Linked DNA regions of Homo sapiens: all the other regions are linked to region 5. The links are contacts of gene promoters, found by promoter capture Hi-C in blood cells and fetal thymus (Javierre and others, 2016). All regions are on one chromosome and are shown on one strand. Each heading gives the region's core, a stretch centred on a gene start or on the middle of the fragment in contact. The rest is flanking DNA. Distances are from core to core; before and after follow the strand shown. Region 1 has its middle 9.9 kb from the start of SNORA26. Region 2 has its middle 12 kb from the start of ERVMER34-1. Region 3 has its middle 71 kb from the start of CHIC2. Region 4 overlaps CHIC2 (cysteine rich hydrophobic domain 2). Region 5 holds the start of FIP1L1 (factor interacting with PAPOLA and CPSF1). Region 6 has its middle 150 kb from the start of CHIC2.

Region 1 (2,700 bases), core at 129-2,628, 650 kb after region 5:
ATTTTAACAGACACTTCATGAAGTTATTTCTTAATAGCCAATAAAGAGATGAAAAGGTGCTCAACTTCATTAATCATCAGGGAGCTGCAAATCAAAATCACCTGAAGCACAATTATCACCCACCAAAATGGCTAAAATGAAAAAAGATGGAAAATACCAAGTGTTGATGAGAATGTGGAACAACTGGAATACTCATATGTTGCTGATAAGTGTAAATTGGCTCAAACACTTTGAAAAACTGTTTTAAAATATTTAATATCTACTAAATTTGAACATGGTATATAACCTATGATCCAATAATTCCATTTGTAGGTATACACCGAACAGAAATGCAATCATCTTTTATCATGTTCATCAGAAGACGTTTATTACAATGTTCATAGCAGCAATATTTTTAATAGTTCCAAAATGTAGACTACTCCAATGCCTATCAACAATTGGTTGAATACATAAATTGTGGTATATTCACAAAATGGACTGCACTGCAGCATTCTCATGAGCAAACTGTGACTATACTCAAAATATGGATGAACCTCATGACCATCATAGTGAGTTAAAGAAACCAGACACAAAAAATCACATGTATATAATGCACAAACACAAGGATACTGCTCTATGCTGTTAGAAGTCAGGCTAGCGGTTACCTTTGGGTGAAAAGGAGTGGTTAGCTACCGGAAGGAAATACTTCTGGTGTACTGTTTCTTTCTTTCTTTCCTTTCTTTCCCTTCTTTTCTTTCCTTTCTTTCTCTTCGTTTCTTTCCCCTCCCTCCGTCCCTCCCTCCCTCCCTCCCTTCCTTCCTTCCTTCCCTCCCTTTCTTCCTTCCCTTTCTCTCTCTCTTTCTTTCTATTTCTTTTTTTCTTTTTTTTAATGTAGTATAGCTCTGTCACCCAGGCTGGAGTGCAGTGGCATGATCTCGCTCACTGCAACCTCCACCTCCCGGGTTCAAGCGATTCCCCTGCCTCAGCCTCCGGAGTAGCTAGGATTACAGACGTGTGCCACCACACCCAGCTAATTTTTGTATTTTTAGTAGAGACAGGGTTTCACCATGTAGGCCAGGCTGGTCTCAAACTCCTGACCTCAAGCGATCTGCCCACCTCGGCCTCCCAAAGTGCTGGGATTACAGGCATGAACCACCACGCCCCGCCATGTTCTGTTTCTTAAATTAGTTGTTGGTGGCAGGACTGTGATTAGTTTGTGAAATTTCAGCCGAATGTGCATTTTTGTGTACTCATCTGTGGTCATGTTATATTTCAATAAAAAGCAGTCTCTGCCAGAACCTACAGGCAATGAGGTGCCACAGAAGGAGTTGACATTTGAGAGGCTTGAGAAGGGTTTAAGAGACACAATCAGATTTGCATTAGGAAGATTAATCTTTGGCTTTGGAGGATGACCGGGAAAGGAGTTGGGAGCTATTTGTAGAACTAATCCAGGCAAGCAATTATGAAGGTCTGAATTAGAGCAAGGGAATAGGAATGAGGACAGGATACAGCTGATATTTAGGAAGTAAACATGACAGGACGTGAGCCGATCACTAAATCCTCCTGCTCATGTTTCCTTGCTTGAAAAATAAGGAATAACAGTACCTACTTCATTGGGACTAGTTTGATGATTTAATGAGGGGGAGTGGTTTTAGATTTATAAAATATATATATGCTTATTGTATACCATACCTAGACATAAGGTATTAATATTAGAAAGCTCTAAGAGAAATATCTTGATTTTGGCATTGTCCCTGCGACGCTGCCTTCTCCCTGCCTAGGATGGATCAGCGTGGGACACAGGGTAGAAGGCAGAGGTACAGAATACCACAGGACATGTCAGAACGTGGGCGTGAAACGGGCCCAAGGGACCACGGGTGAAGGTCTAGGACTCTTCCAGCAGCCTGAGCGCCAGCAGAAGGAACCAAAACTAACCCAGGCGTTTCCTCTCCTCCTCCCCAGCCTTTCGGCCGAGAAGCAGACCGGCGGAACGCGACGGGGATTCAGGCCTAGGGGTGGGCTTGAGGCCGGAAAAATGGCCAATGGAACGAGAGCTTCTCCGTGCTTAGCCAATTGCATGACCCCCCCCCCAGGACCGCCCCCATCCGGTGATTGGCAGACACGTCTCCCAGTGTTGTCGCGGCCTGCTAAGGCTCTCAGAACTCCCGCGAGGGTGCGGGTCTTCCTCCAGCGCTGGGCTACTTGGTCCCGCCCCTCAAGGTATTTCTGCTCCTTGTGTGCCAGGGACCCCGGTAGTCCTGCTCCTGCTCTGGACCTGGAGCCAGGAGGTGGCTGGGAGGTGGGCGCGGTGAGGAGGTCTGAGCAGCCGCAGGCTCTGGGCCGCTTCGCCTCGAATCCGGGACCCGCGGGACCCGCAGGACCCGTAGTGCCTGGGGCCGAGGTGGGCGCGGCCCGGGCTCTCATGCTTTCCCTCACGCGCACCTGCCTTTTCCGCGGGGCCCGGGGCGGCTCCCCTGCCAGTTGGCGGGAGTAACCCGTAGTAGTAAAGCGCGACTGGATTAGGCCCTGTGTATTGAAGGGTTTGCGATCTTGAAAGGAACATTTGCATTAAAAACAGTGGGCAAACTTGTTTGTGGTCCTGTTGGTAACACACTTTTAGGGGGTGCAGTACAGTATGTTACCATACTTGGGGGATTAGCCGCCGTAGTTAAATGGTGGGTTCCTGTTGTTCCCAGCCCATTTCTAGCTAATTTAAAGAGA
Region 2 (2,700 bases), core at 60-2,559, 640 kb after region 5:
CTCTCTCTCTCTTTCTTTCTTTCCTTACTTTCTTTCTTTCTCTCTCTCTTTCTCTCTTTCTCTCATTCCTTCTTTCTTTCTTTCCTTTTTTTTTGACGGAGTTTCACTCATGTTGCCCAGGCTGGAGTGCAGTGGCACAATCTCAGCTCATCGCAACCTCTGCCTGCTGGGTTCAAGTGATCCTCCTGCCTCAGCCTCCTGAGTAGCAGGGATTACAGGCACGCACCACCATGCCCACCTAATTTTTTGTATTTTTAGTACAGACAGGGTTTCTCCATGCTGGTCAGGCTGGTCTCGAACTCCCAACCTCAGGTGATCCGCCCGCCTTGGCCTCCCAAAGTGCTGGGATTACAGGTGTGAGCCACCGCACCTGGCCTGGTCCTCATTTCACAATGTCAAGTACGAATACAAAGTGAAGAGGAAATATGAAATAAAGGGGCAGTCATTGGAATGTTAGAAAATGTCTTATTAAAAGGATAAAGTTTCATCAAATAGCATGACTGATTATGAGGTGTGTTAAGCTGCACAATATTTGATTAAAGTAAGGTTTGTAGGGCATGACAAGTTATAGAAAATAGTTTCAACATTACTGGTGATGGACACAAAGGTATTTCTGATTTTCAAAACTCATAGGGGAAAAAAATCCTCTTTCCATTGTTATGCATCAGAAGGAACACAAAATAGGTTGGTTGGCAAAAACATTTATTAGCCAGCTCAAAGGTTCACCAGATGTTTCACCTTCCTATTTCCTGATACATTTATTAATTAGAAGCTTACTTAAGGAAAATTGTTATCCAATATTTTTTATCAGTGTGGACTCATGGATATATACATTGTTCTTTGGGTTGTAATCCAGTACTATCATACTGTTGCTCAAAGTGTTGCAGCTTTGGCCTTTGAGAGCTCTTGGAAAATTTGTTCCTGTTTCCTTTTGACATGCCTCTCCCTATGTGTTTTTTGTTTGTTTGGCCTTATTTTTTTTTTTTCAGCACTTCCTTACTCTCCAGCGCTCCAATATGCTGCAAGCTCATCTTTTATTTTTCCTGCCCAGCCCTAGAATCAGTGATTTTTTTTTCCCAAGAAACCATTGTTCCCTGTACTGAAAAATGGTTTTAGAAACCAAGATCTGGGCACAAGATGTGCTCATTGCTACTGCTACTAGGTTATCACTGTGTAGGCCCCCTCAGTGGACACAGCTAGGAAATGTTTGTATGTATACACAGATACCTATACATATATACCTACAGTTTATTGAAATAAACGAGTTTATACTGATATCTCCAACTCTCAGCACCACAGGATTCATTCTAGCCTCACCTTACCCCTTGCTTATTTGTAACTTTTCTGTTGCTGAGAAACCTGTCTCCTATTAGCTAAGATTTATTTGCTTATTTGTTAAACTCTACTATATGTGTAAACTAGTTACATAACATAGTTACATAATTGCTAACCTGTCCCTTTATGAGAAACAAAGTAACCAATTAGAATACAGCGTTTGCTTTTTTGTCTTTGGCTTTGCAGTATTCAGTCAAGACATCGTTTTCAAAAGTTAAATCGTCTCCTCAATTTATATATAGGTATATACACATATGTGTATATATATTCACTTCTTTAAAAGTTAACCCATCATTATTGGCATCTAGAGAATCTACATACAAAGTACAAGCAACAAGAAAATGCTAAATTCACTTAAATCATGAAAAGTAATTGGGCTAGGCTCCTCATACAATTCTAATGATAGTTACACAGATGGACTACTGAAGAACAAATACTTTTTATTCTTTTGATTGTTATCTATGACTTTATACAAGATATATGTTTTTTAATTTCTCCACAGAAAGCTTCAGAAGATGAGTATTTAAATGTAGCCATCTTAACCAGCAATCAGTACTACCACAAGGAATATTTCAGGGGTGGCAACAACCCTGTGATAATCCTGCAGCATGGGTCGATTTGCTTTCAAAACCTAGAGGTGTACAAAGTCAAAGGTGAAGAAAATGTGCATTTGCTGTTAAGAAAATATTATGATATACAGTAATTACAACTGTGAGGGAATATATGCAATAAAAATAATTGTTTGGGAGGAAATGTGGATGATTTTTTTTTCTGTTTTCCAAACGAAAGCCTTAGGACATAACACTTTTTGAGTGAGATCTTTGTGGTGACATAATAATTCTATATCTGAGTTGTGATGGTTCCATGAATTTACACATGACAAAATGACACAGAATGATGTAATATTGGCACACACAGCTCAATGTCAATTTTCTAGTTTTGTTTTTGTGCTATAGTGACTTCCACTTGGGAGAATTTGGGTGAAGGCTACGTGGAATCTCTCTGCACTGTTTTTTTTTAAATATATAATTCAGAGTAAAAAGCTTTAAAAAGTAATAGTATTTTACATCCTCAAATTAAACAGATGTGTAAATATATACATATATAGTTTATGTATGTTAAACCTAGTTGCCTTTTTTAATGAGTTTTTTTTCTGTATTAAACTATCCTTCAGAAAGGTTGAAGCAAATGTACCATGTATAATAGGATATTTAAAATTTCATTTTCATTGGCAGAGTAATTTCACAGGAAATGTATCTTAAGGAAATACTCTGCCCTTTCATACCTTCTGTCTTCCTAATAATTTCTACAAAGATATTCAAAAAACCCTTTTGCCAAATAAATGGTCTATAAACTTCTTAACAC
Region 3 (2,700 bases), core at 86-2,585, 620 kb before region 5:
CATTATGACTAATGCACAATTTATTAAACTTAGATTTTTTGAGTGCAGTAACAGAACTAGAAATGTGTTGCTGTGTTACTCTGTTCTTGTACTGCTATAAAGAAGTACCTGAGACTGGGTAATTCATAAAGAAAAGAGGTTTAATTGACTCATAGTTCCACAGGCTGTACGGGAAGCATGACGGCTTCTGCTTGGCTTTTGGGGAGGCCTCAGGAAACTTATGGCAGAAGGCAAAGGGGAAGCAGGCACTTCCTACATGGCGAGAGCAGGAGGAAGAGAGAATGAAGGGGGAGGTACTACACATTTTTATAAACAACCAGATCTTGTGAGAACTCACTATTACCAGAATAGCAAGGGAAAAATCTGCCCCCATGATCCAGTCACCTCCCACAAAGCCCCTCTTCTAACATTGGGGATTACAGTTCAACACGAGATTTGTGGGGGAACACAGACCCAAACCATACCAATTACTAAAGAAATGGGAGACATTTGAATTTGGTGAAGAAATGGTCTAAGGTCTAAGCTTGGCCCAACCTCGGGCATCATGCCAAGTATAAAGGATAGCAAAGAGAATAATGCCTTTTGGTTTCTAAAGAGTTGAGGCTGGAGGAATAAGCATGTAACATGGTATGAAAAGTGCTAATAATCAAGGAAAGTAAGTGATAGGGTGGATCTTCAAAGGAGCAATATATTTGGGGTGGAAAGGTCATAGGTTGCATGGGTTGAAGCTTAACACATGAAAAGGCTGTGTTAAAAAAGTACTGATGATTTCTGTATGATTGGAAAATATGGGGAGATGGTCTGGTACAAAATACCTGTTTAATGAATTGTGCAGAAGCATCAAGAGATAAGGTCAGGAAAGGGAGAAGGGACAAGTGTATCATGCTGAAATTTTTTTGACTCTAGCCTGAAGCTATTGAAAGATTTTGAGAATGTGAGTGGACCTGGTCAAATCTGTCATTGATGAAGCTCATTCTGACCCTGAAATAAGCCAAAATTAGCAAGCTCCAATGTTAATTTGTTTTAACCTGTAAAGCTAGCAAGTAAAAATTCCTTAAATAAAGAACTCAACTGTTTCACTGTTTAGCAATGAGACCAAAGAGTATGTAAGATCGAAGGAATAGAGGTATAGAAAGACTGTTTTGCCCTTTGTTAAACTGAAAGACTAGCCTACTAACAATTCTAAATAATTATCTGGAACATTATCAGGGAATCTCACTGGGGTCAGACTGGAATCTAATTCTGGTTCTGCCACTCTCCAGCTGTGTGGCTTTGGAAATGTTACTTAACAGCTCTGTGCCTCCATTTCCTCATTTGTAAAATGGATTTGTTAATAGTACCTGTTTCAAGAAGTACTTATGAGGATTACACAATATAATGCATATATTCCACTGGTAATGCCACTCAACACAGGAGACCACTAGGAACACACAAGGAGTTGAACAAAGTTGGGTTTTTTTGTTTGTTGAAACTAGAGATACATTGTAGGGATTCCTGAGTGCTGGAAAGGCCTTCTTTCAGGATTTGGGCTTGTGATGAGTGATTTGGGAAGGATTCAAGCAAGAGTTTGCACTGGATTTCGATTCTGTAAGGAAGTGGGGTAATTTTATGATTGGTCTGAATAGATCTCATTTAGGAGGTGGGAGACACGAAGCTAAGTGAAAGCCGTAATTTGTAAAGAAGCAGCAGTCACTCATATTTAGTATTTTGTGCTTTGCACTGCGACTTTGTTTTTGTCTTATTACACAAGATGTGAAGAGGTCTTTTCTGTTTCATCATGGTCACAGAGTAACCTTGACTGATGGTCTTCTGTGAGATTGTTTATGTTCAACAGGAGAACACCAAGGCCTAGCTGGTAATAACAAGCCAAGTCCTGGATGCCAAGGGCTGCTTTTCTCTTTCTGTCACTTAGCACAATGCCTGGCATAAAGTTAAAGCTTAAGAAGTATCCTAAGGAACAATTCTAAAAGAATTGAGCCCAACTCTCACATGCATTCTGACCCTAAAATAAAGGCCAGTTTGGTCCATTTTTGAGATTAATATGACAGTGTTGTTTCAACTTCATTGGTCAGTACCTTCTTATTCCTTTTCTATATGGATAGATTTGCCTTATATTTTAGATGTTTACTTTGAGTTTGTATTTTTCGTATTCAAAACAGTTAAATCAGAATGTTAAACTTCTAACAACAGATTCTCTTTGAACATTTTTACAAAAGTTTAAAAGTTTTAAAAATCTGTTTTCAACATCTCCCTAGGTCAGTCTTCACAGTGTTTATCACAACTGAACATAAATATTAAGTTTAGTTATTTGTAAAATATCTGTTTCTCCTGCTATACCATGAAAGCAGGTTCTTATCAGCCTTGCTATTATATCTTAGCGCCCAGTATGTGCCTGGCACAGACTGTTTTGAAGAAATGATTGTTGAGTAACTGAACGAGGAAGAGAAATTGTACTTGGAAAGTGGAGTTGAAAACTAACATGTATTGAGTGACTGTTCAATGCCAGGTCCTATTTTAGGCACTATACAAAAATTATAATTAAGTCCTCTCAGAAATTCTGTAAAGGAATTATTGACTTAAGTTCAGCGACTTACCCTTCTAGGAATGGGTAAAGTCTGATTCCAGGTCTGTGTCATTCATCAAACATTTAATAAACACATATCTTGGGAATTTATCATAGCCTATCATTAGCAATTGCTT
Region 4 (2,700 bases), core at 72-2,571, 640 kb before region 5:
TTTAATTTTCTGCACATCACTGGAATATAAAATTTCATATTAATCCAGAATGAGCAGAAGTGAATAATATAATTTCCTCTTAAGTTCTCTTATGTTAAAATAATTCATTTTAAATTATATATGGTTTCTCCCTAATAACTTACAGCTAAAGACATTGTTTTACTTAACAAATTCAATTTACACAGATGTCTAAAGATGAATAGCATTCTTATTTGAAAAATATAAGTTAAAAACAAGATTATGAATATATTCAAAACATTTTAGTTAAAGGTTAATTAATGCATTATAGATTTAAGAGTTTAAAATTTAAGTAGGGAATTGAACATTTGAAATTTTGCTTTCCCATTTTGTGATGGTATGAATAAATCCAATTCAAATACATTTTAATTATAGGTTTAAATAGGTGAACTTTTATAAATAGTTATTAGTGAGTATTCTGTACATTTTATTAGCATATCATAGCATATTTTTGTTCTAAAGACTGATAATACTATTTTATTGGGAAATATTAAGATAAACTTTGTTACAGTTTCTACACTTAACATTTTTTTTCTTTAGCTCTCAATACTCTAAAATTTATGAGATTTCCATTGGTTTTATTAGTAATGTCTAGAAAACCACTTCTTTGTAAAACCATGTTTTCAAACAATTGATTGTGATTAAATGAGTCATTGGGAATTAGGAAACTCTTAAGTAACCAGTGGTGGCAAAGTAGGAGATTAATACCTTAAAGATTTTCTAAATGGCTCTTTGCTGTCCTGGAAGACTAATTTATATCTAATGGCATTTAATTTGTTTATAGGGAATAATATTAATAATTTATTCCTAAGAAAGTTACAGTATTTAGGAAAAATTACAAAAATACATAATAATTCAAATTTGAATTTTCAGGAAATCTTAGTTTTCTATTGCAGTAATTGAGTTTGTCTAGGTGTATGTGTGCTTTGCTGTTATAAGCTTACTTTAGATGCTTCTTTGGAAGGTATGTCTTATTTGGGTATGTCTTATCTAATATTGCTGATTAATCATTACCATATTAGCCATTTTATGAATTACTGAGGCCCTTTTAGTTCTCTTTCCGTTTTCATGTTTTTCCTATTTTCACAATTCTACCAAAAATCTAAAAGGGACCAAAGGCAATATAAATAGAAGCCAAAATTTCTATTCTTATGTTACTACTACTTGTTGCTCAACTTAAGTCTGTTTAATACCTATTCAGTAATTGAAATGATATTTTTTAAATCTCCTGTTAATTTTTACTTTCACAAAGCTGAATGGCTGTATTAAAACTAGTTCACCAATGAGAAAAATATAACCACTAAGGTGTGGAAATGAAGAAATGTGTGTTTTGTTTTTGTTTTTGTTTTTGTTTTTTTAAAGAAAAAGGGTTATTTAAAGTGAGCTGAGGGAGATGGGTGGGATCCAGATGCTTGGAGCTGTCTACTTCCAGACCAGGTTAGTAACATGACGCCATTCACACAAAAAAGTTGTTTTTCCTGCATATTGTGAGTTGGTGGTCTTGGTCCTTTTAATTAAAGATAAGAATACTTGATAAAATTACATTTCTTGTTGATCATCTTTTGCAGAAAGACGGAGAATTACATTGGTAAAGAACCGCTAACCTGTCCCCTCACCCCCAGGGTGTGAGCAGTGAAAAGGATTAAGGCCCACTGTAGGGAAGCTTACACTAAAGCCTGCACTGCCCCTTCCCCTGTTCTTTCAGCTAAATAGATTTTTAGTTCCCATGACTATCAATCTGGTGCTTTTCACAAGCACTAAATTCTCTTAAAGAAAATTAAAGATGACTTATTTTTTTAGAAACTGGCCTGGAATACTGAAAGATGGTGTTTTTTGGTACTTTGTTTCATGTTGACAGATCCCATACATATTTTTTTCTGATGCATGTTAATTTGCTTCAGCTTGTTTTGAATTTGGAGTTGAAATAAACATTTAAAAACCAAGGACAGGTTGTTATATGATTAGATTTGCTTGTCCACAGTTAGCAAGTGTAGAGTTCGACACTGTTGAATCTTACATTTCATTAGAAATAGCTACCTGACAGCCTTGTGGACATAAACTCTTTAACTTTTATCTAGATGACTACAATTATAAAGTGCTTTCTTTTAAAAGCTTTTAAGTAGCTTTTATAAATGCTGAAGTGTCATTTTTTTTAGTATCTGCCAAATTGGTATTGTATTTAATCTTGAAAATATATTTTGATTTTCTTAACTAACAATAATTGCATAGTATTAAACATTCTCAGTAGCTCAACCTTTTTTTTTTCTATTTAATTTGAGCTTTTGTTGTTACTAACAAATAATTTGTGGCACAGTTTCTTTCCTTTTTTTTTTAAATGACTGCTAGAATCTATATACTTGTCACCTTAGTGTGCTAGAAATGTTCCACTCAAATCAAGGGTTCCTTTCTGGTTTTGTATGTTCTCACCTGCTCCTCACTGTAAATCATTGAGATGTCAAGTGCAATGATTAATTAAGCTGCACGTGCAAGTGCTTTTTTTTTCACCTGTCAAGCAGGAAAGAAGTCTTATAGCAAAATTAGATGGTGCTAATTCACAGCTTTTACTTCAGACTGTGAAGTGTGTAGAAATATTTTATATTTATATGCTTATTCAGAATGTGGCATATCAGGGCTTGTTTGTTTTATAATTCTTAAATATTGTAAGATACAATTATTATACCA
Region 5 (2,700 bases), core at 178-2,677:
AGCACATCCAAAGTTAGATCACCTTATAATTACTTAACAAGATACTTATTTTATGGAAAAAAAAATCAGACTTTACTGCTATAAAAATAAGCTTAAATTTAAGAGGTAATGAAGATTTCCAGATCTTTGTAAAAGAAATCCTACACATTCACATTTCAAAGAGTAGTAACTAATGCTAAATCTTGCCACCAAACGATTTTTTTTTACAAGTTTATCAAAGTCACATCATCAAGGACCTGCATGGTGCCCAAAGTGCACTTTTACTATTCTATTCTAAAGACAATCAAGAATATATGTTTTAGGCAAGGAACAAACATTAACTTTCAAATCTGGTGTTAACAAGCAAGAAGGGATTGTGACTTAAAGTTAAAAACCAGATGTCAAACAAGTACCCTTCTAGAGAGAAGTACATGATGCATTAAATTTATTTTGAGAAAAACAAATACATGAGATGACACTGAAAACTATAAGCCGAAGGGTCATGAGATACCTCCATGATGTAGGTTAAACGGTAGTCTCTTAAAAAAGAATAACTTCACCTTAATACAGGAGACATTCAGAGTTTTCTTTATGGGCCATCTTTCTCTCTCTCTCTCTTAATTAATTATTTTTAAAGCACGACTTTCAGACAAGGAGGTACCCTTGCAGGTGCATTCCATACAAACTGACCATCAAGAAACAAGACGTTAGTTGTACAGCATTAACTTTATTTAGCTATTATTACAGAATGACTGTTTCTGAAAGAAGGGACAGGAAGGGCACCCTAAGGCCACAGGGCAAAAACAGACACCAAAAACCACCACCTCAGAATCGACAGAAAAAAACAAGGGTAAAGAGCGCAGCAGCTAGGCGATCGAGACGCCTCGGGGAAAGCACAGCGAAGCCGGGGGCCAGGACCGGTCACAGCCCCCCAGCCCGGCCCGGCCGCCACAGGGGTGGATGCGCATGGTGGGCGTGGGCCAGGCGGGAGACCGCCGCGGGGACTGGGGGCACGCGCACGCCGCGCTCGGCCTAAGTCAGGCCGGACAGGACTCCCAACCAGAGGCCCGAAGCGGCGGCGCGAGAGGCCAGGGACGCCGGCCGTTTGAGGGCCAAGAGGGGAGGCCTGAGAGAACCCGAGAGACAGAGACAGGAAGTTTCGTACCGCCATAGAGCCACTCTTCCTCCTCATCCCCTCCGGTCCCGCCGCTCAGCTCCGACACTAGGCGCTCGACCTCGCCGGCCGACATGGCCGCCCCGAGCGCAACTTAAACGCGGCGATCAACAGCCCCCTCCAACCCCTTCCCCAGCCTCGCAGCCCCGAGGCGCGAGAAGGGCGCGAACCCGCCGACGAACGAACGAAGAAAGCTCGAGACTCCAATCCCAGGAAGGCGACGGCAGCGGCGGCAAAGATGAAGCCTCCAGCGCAGGTCCGTCTGCGCATGCGCAGGAGACCCAAGCGGCGCGGCGCGTATAGGTGGCTTCGCTTCCGCGGCGGCCACCTGGGCCTGGTTGCGCCTGCGCGCTGAGGTGGGCCCCGCCCCTCTAGGATCCCGGTTTGCTATTTTGCGTGGCTTCCTCCCGTGGCGTCCTGAGTCGGCCAGGGTTCCCCGCCCCCACCCTTCTTTTTAATAACCCGTATTGCCATTGCTGGCGAGTACACCATTGTTCCCTTCTACTCTTCGTGCTCTTTCTTCTCAACTTTTTATTTGTTTTTTAATCTTCAGAAAGGCCTTCTTTTATTCTTTAATCAGCCTTGATACAGAATCATTACCTGTCACTCCCTTTCCTCACTGAATAGAGAAGAAATCACAATCAGTACTATTTCTCAAAAAATTAATTTTCACAGCCAACAAAAGCAAAACTAATAGATGAAGAATGCACTCTCCTTGTTAAAAACCATAAATTACTGTCAAGGTCAAAGACCGCCTCATTCCCCTACCCTTCTCTCCGGAGGTAGCCCTTGCTACAGATGCATATCCTGTTTGGAGTTCATCATTCCGAAATTTCCTATACACTTACTTCATGTGTTGTGCTGTTTTGGTGGGAGAACCTGAGATTGACAAGTCTTAAATAGTACAGTACAGTATAGTATCATCCTTCGACTTCCTTTTTTTTCTTTTTTTTTAGCATCCGTGTCTTGGAGCTCTTTTTCATTTTAGTATGAATCAAACTATATCTATTTTAAGTGCTTCATAAAATTGCATAGTATGGCTATCACAGAGTGAATATGGCTATTTCTCCATTGATGTACACCCAGATTGCTTTTGACTTTACACTTTTAACTACAACAAAAAATGACAATGAAGATCCACACGGCTCCTTGCAGATTTGTCTGTTTCTCAAAGATAGATCATAAAGTATGTACAGTTTTTATTTTAATAGGTAAACCAAATGTTCAGGCCGCTTCTGAAAGCACATCTTCCAGTGAAAAGATGACATACCATGGTTCAAACTGGAGCTCTAGGTTTGTCTAGGTTTTTTGTTTGTTTGTTTATTTATTTGAGGCGGAGTCTCACTCTGTTGCCCAGCTGGAGTACAGTGGTGCGATCTCTGCTCACTGCAACCTCCACCTCCTGGGCTCAAGCGATTCTTCTGCCTCAGCCTCCCAAGTAGCTGGGATTACAGGCACGCACCACCATGCCCAGCCAATTTTTGTATTTATAGTAGAGAGGGGGTTTCACCATTTTGGCCAGGCTGGTTTTGAACTCCTGACCTCAG
Region 6 (2,700 bases), core at 173-2,672, 540 kb before region 5:
ACACACATCGTTGGTATCCCCTTTAATTTCAATTCTTTTTATCTTTTTTTTTCCAAGAAATATTTTACCATTATATTTTAATACTATATATAAAACATCAGGCACAAGAGAGCCCTTCAAAAGAAAAAGCAGAGCGTGCCTGAAGAAAATGCTTCTACAATGGTCTTTATCTCATACAGCTGAATATAATTTTCCCCCAGATGTTACTCTAGTCACTTATTAAATTAATCTTTCCTGTTTTAATACCTATAGAAACTGCACCAAAATCTGAGCTGTTCAAAGGGATCTGCAAACCAGGTAGCTGATACATTTGTAAACATTCCCTTTGACCTGTTTGATCTTCATATCTTCATTCACAACCACACTAATTGAGCTGATTGAGGGCAATGTCATTGGGTCTTTTGCATATTCAAATTTTCCAGCCTCCTCTTTCTGGATGTGAATGAGGTTCAGAAGAATGGGTGGGAGAGGCCCAACTGACTCAGCCAGAAATACCGGGTTGGCCCTTTCCTGGGGCAAGCAGTGAGGACAGCACTGAGTGGCTTAAATGAGTGTTTATCCCAGCTGCCGCCCGCCCCAGCTAGGAAGGAAGTCCTTACCATCTGGGCACAGTTGCTTTGGGCTACTTGGAGTGTGGAAGGAGACACTCTGCTTCCTCTAAAGCCCTTTAACAATGTTGCGGACCAAAGCTTCATGATTTTTCAAGAGGAAAAGTCCTTGACAGGCTCCCAGGACTCAAATCTTCTATTCCTGAGAGATCTATCACTGGCGGTGGGGGGCTCAGCCCCCTGGAGCCAGTTCTCCTCCCTATACTAAGGTGGCGGAGAGTCTCCTAAATAGAACAGAGGTGCTAATAAGCTTTGGGGAAGAAACAAACAGAAGAAGCTCAAAAAGTACAGAAACTGTCAAAGTGGATATTTTAAAAGCCTCCCACTGGAGCTCGTCTCCTGTGTTCCCTCGGAACTGTGAAACTTTTAAAATGTTGAAATCATTAGCCCTATTATTGTGTCAGTCTGCCACATTCACTTCCATCTTTCCATTTCTATCCACCCACCAGCCACCCCGCCTCTCCCAGCAAGCTGAATTACACCACATTCAAATCTTCTGCAATGGAACTCCCTAAAATATGCTCTTTTTTCAAAATATGTTTACATTCAAGTCACTCAAGTGCTACATTGCTGAGTCAAAGACTTCAGACATTTTAAGGAAGGATAGAGAAATAGGAGACTAGGGCCTGTGGTCTAGTGTTCTGTAGTATTCTAACTCTTTATCCTCTTCTCCCAGTCCCCAATCTCACCCCTTATCTATGGTCTTTGGCTGTTCTGTTTTTTTGTTTTTTTTGGGTTTTTTTTTTTGAGTTTTGTGCTTGTTGCCCAGACTAGAGTGCAATGGCATGATCTTGGCTCACTGCAACCTCTGCCTCCTGGATTCAAGTGATTCTTCTCCTCAGCCTCCCAAGTGGCTGGTATTACAGGACTGTGCCTTCATGCCTGGCTAAGTTTGTATCTCTAGTAGAGATGAGGTTTCACCATGTTGGCCAGGTTGGTCTCGAACTCCTGACCTCAGGTGATTCGTCCACCTCAGCCTCCCAAAGTGTTGGGATTATAGGCATGAGCCACGACGCCCAGCCGTCTTTGGCTGTTCTTTGATGTAAGGAGGCAAGAGCCTGGATTGGTGGTGCATGCCTGTAGTCCCAGCTACTTGGGAGGCTGAGATGGGAGGATTGCTTGAGCCCAGACATTTGAGGCTGCAGTGAGCTATGATGGCACCACTGCACTCCATCTTGGGTGAAAGAGCAAGACTTTGTCTCAAGAAAAAAGAAAAAAGAAAGAAAGAAATGAAGGAAGAAAAAAGGAGTCAAGAGGAACAAAGATCAAGCCTGTGTAACTCAGTCATACGATGGAACCAAAGTACCAGGAGCAAAAAGGTAGAAACACTGAGTTTTGCTGATGCTAAGTTGGAACCGCAAAGAGACCTCAAAGCTTTTCCCGACTTTGACCCTTCCTCTTCTCTCCTGAGCACAGCCTCCAGCCACCCTTGGTTCTCCTGAGGTCATGCCCAGCTCTGAGAGGATCAGTGGTTGGTGGCTCAGAAGGGCCAAGGCTTTGGAGCCAACCTGACCTTGGCTTCAAGTCTAGCACCTGTGGAACCTTGGTCAGGTCCCTTTCCAGCTCTGGGCTCAGTTTTCTCATGGGAATAATGGTAGCAATATCTACCTTACAGGGTTTATGTAAGGATTACTTGACAAATGTATGCGTGTGCATTTAAAAAAATTGAAATGAAATTCACATAGTATAAAATTAACCACTTTAAAGTGAACAATTAAGTGGCACTAAGTACATTTGCAATGTTGTGCAACCCACCATTTCTATCTGTTTTCCTCACTCCAAAATAAAAACCCATCTGCACTCATTATGCAGCCACTCTCCACTCTTCTTCCCACCATCCTGGCAACCAGCAATCTGCATTCTGTCTCTACAGATTTACTTATTCTGGACATTTCCTATAAGTAGAATCACATGATATTTGTCCTTCTGTGTCTGGCTTCTTTCACTTGGCATACCGTTTTGAGGCTCTACTTATTGTTGTATGTATCATTACTTCGTTCTTCTTTACCGGCTGAATTAATATTCCATTGTGTGTAAGCACCACAATTTGTTTACCCATTCATCTTTTGATGGGCGTTTGGGTTGTTTCTAC

Evidence for each region. Contacts are between HindIII fragments. The CHiCAGO score rates a contact against its expected background, and 5 or more counts as called.
Region 1: a contact is called between a fragment that was not itself captured here and the fragment with the promoter of FIP1L1 in region 5, in 7 of 17 cell types (total CD4 T cells, naive CD4 T cells, non-activated CD4 T cells and 4 more). The highest score is 8.8, in total CD4 T cells.
Region 2: a fragment that was not itself captured here is called in contact with the fragment with the promoter of FIP1L1 in region 5 in 1 of 17 cell types (total CD4 T cells); the score reaches 5.1 in total CD4 T cells.
Region 3: a contact is called between a fragment that was not itself captured here and the fragment with the promoter of FIP1L1 in region 5, in 1 of 17 cell types (monocytes). The highest score is 5.4, in monocytes.
Region 4: a fragment that was not itself captured here is called in contact with the fragment with the promoter of FIP1L1 in region 5 in 9 of 17 cell types (total CD8 T cells, fetal thymus, naive CD4 T cells and 6 more); the score reaches 11.4 in total CD8 T cells.
Region 6: a fragment that was not itself captured here is called in contact with the fragment with the promoter of FIP1L1 in region 5 in 2 of 17 cell types (M2 macrophages and monocytes); the score reaches 5.6 in M2 macrophages.

What each region holds. Positions count from the first base shown.
Region 1 is chr4:52,721,815-52,724,514 of GRCh38, reverse strand. No RefSeq gene overlaps it. Among named protein-coding and RNA genes, the nearest start is that of SNORA26, 9.9 kb to the right of the region's middle. RefSeq lists an enhancer at 1,693-1,992 and silencers at 2,153-2,202, 2,383-2,522. The HindIII fragment of the contact is 6,089 bases long and covers 1-2,700 here.
Region 2 is chr4:52,738,435-52,741,134 of GRCh38, reverse strand. No RefSeq gene overlaps it. Among named protein-coding and RNA genes, the nearest start is that of ERVMER34-1, 12 kb to the left of the region's middle. The HindIII fragment of the contact is 1,069 bases long and covers 775-1,843 here.
Region 3 is chr4:53,992,083-53,994,782 of GRCh38, reverse strand. No RefSeq gene overlaps it. Among named protein-coding and RNA genes, the nearest start is that of CHIC2, 71 kb to the left of the region's middle. The HindIII fragment of the contact is 1,209 bases long and covers 731-1,939 here.
Region 4 is chr4:54,016,493-54,019,192 of GRCh38, reverse strand. The region is part of intron 3 of CHIC2 (cysteine rich hydrophobic domain 2); the gene reads left to right. Among named protein-coding and RNA genes, the nearest start is that of CHIC2, 47 kb to the left of the region's middle. The HindIII fragment of the contact is 724 bases long and covers 960-1,683 here.
Region 5 is chr4:53,376,368-53,379,067 of GRCh38, reverse strand. FIP1L1 (factor interacting with PAPOLA and CPSF1) reads right to left here and starts at 1,427. Exons shown (of 18, transcript NM_030917.4): 1 at 1,145-1,427. The coding sequence starts at 1,229. It overlaps LOC105377654 (a long non-coding RNA gene), which reads left to right and starts at 1,328. Exons shown (of 3, transcript XR_007058118.1): 1 at 1,328-1,409. RefSeq lists a silencer at 850-939 and enhancers at 612-1,160, 1,100-1,219, 1,270-1,359, 1,161-1,709. The HindIII fragment of the contact is 4,469 bases long and covers 94-2,700 here.
Region 6 is chr4:53,918,178-53,920,877 of GRCh38, reverse strand. No RefSeq gene overlaps it. Among named protein-coding and RNA genes, the nearest start is that of CHIC2, 150 kb to the left of the region's middle. The HindIII fragment of the contact is 1,124 bases long and covers 861-1,984 here.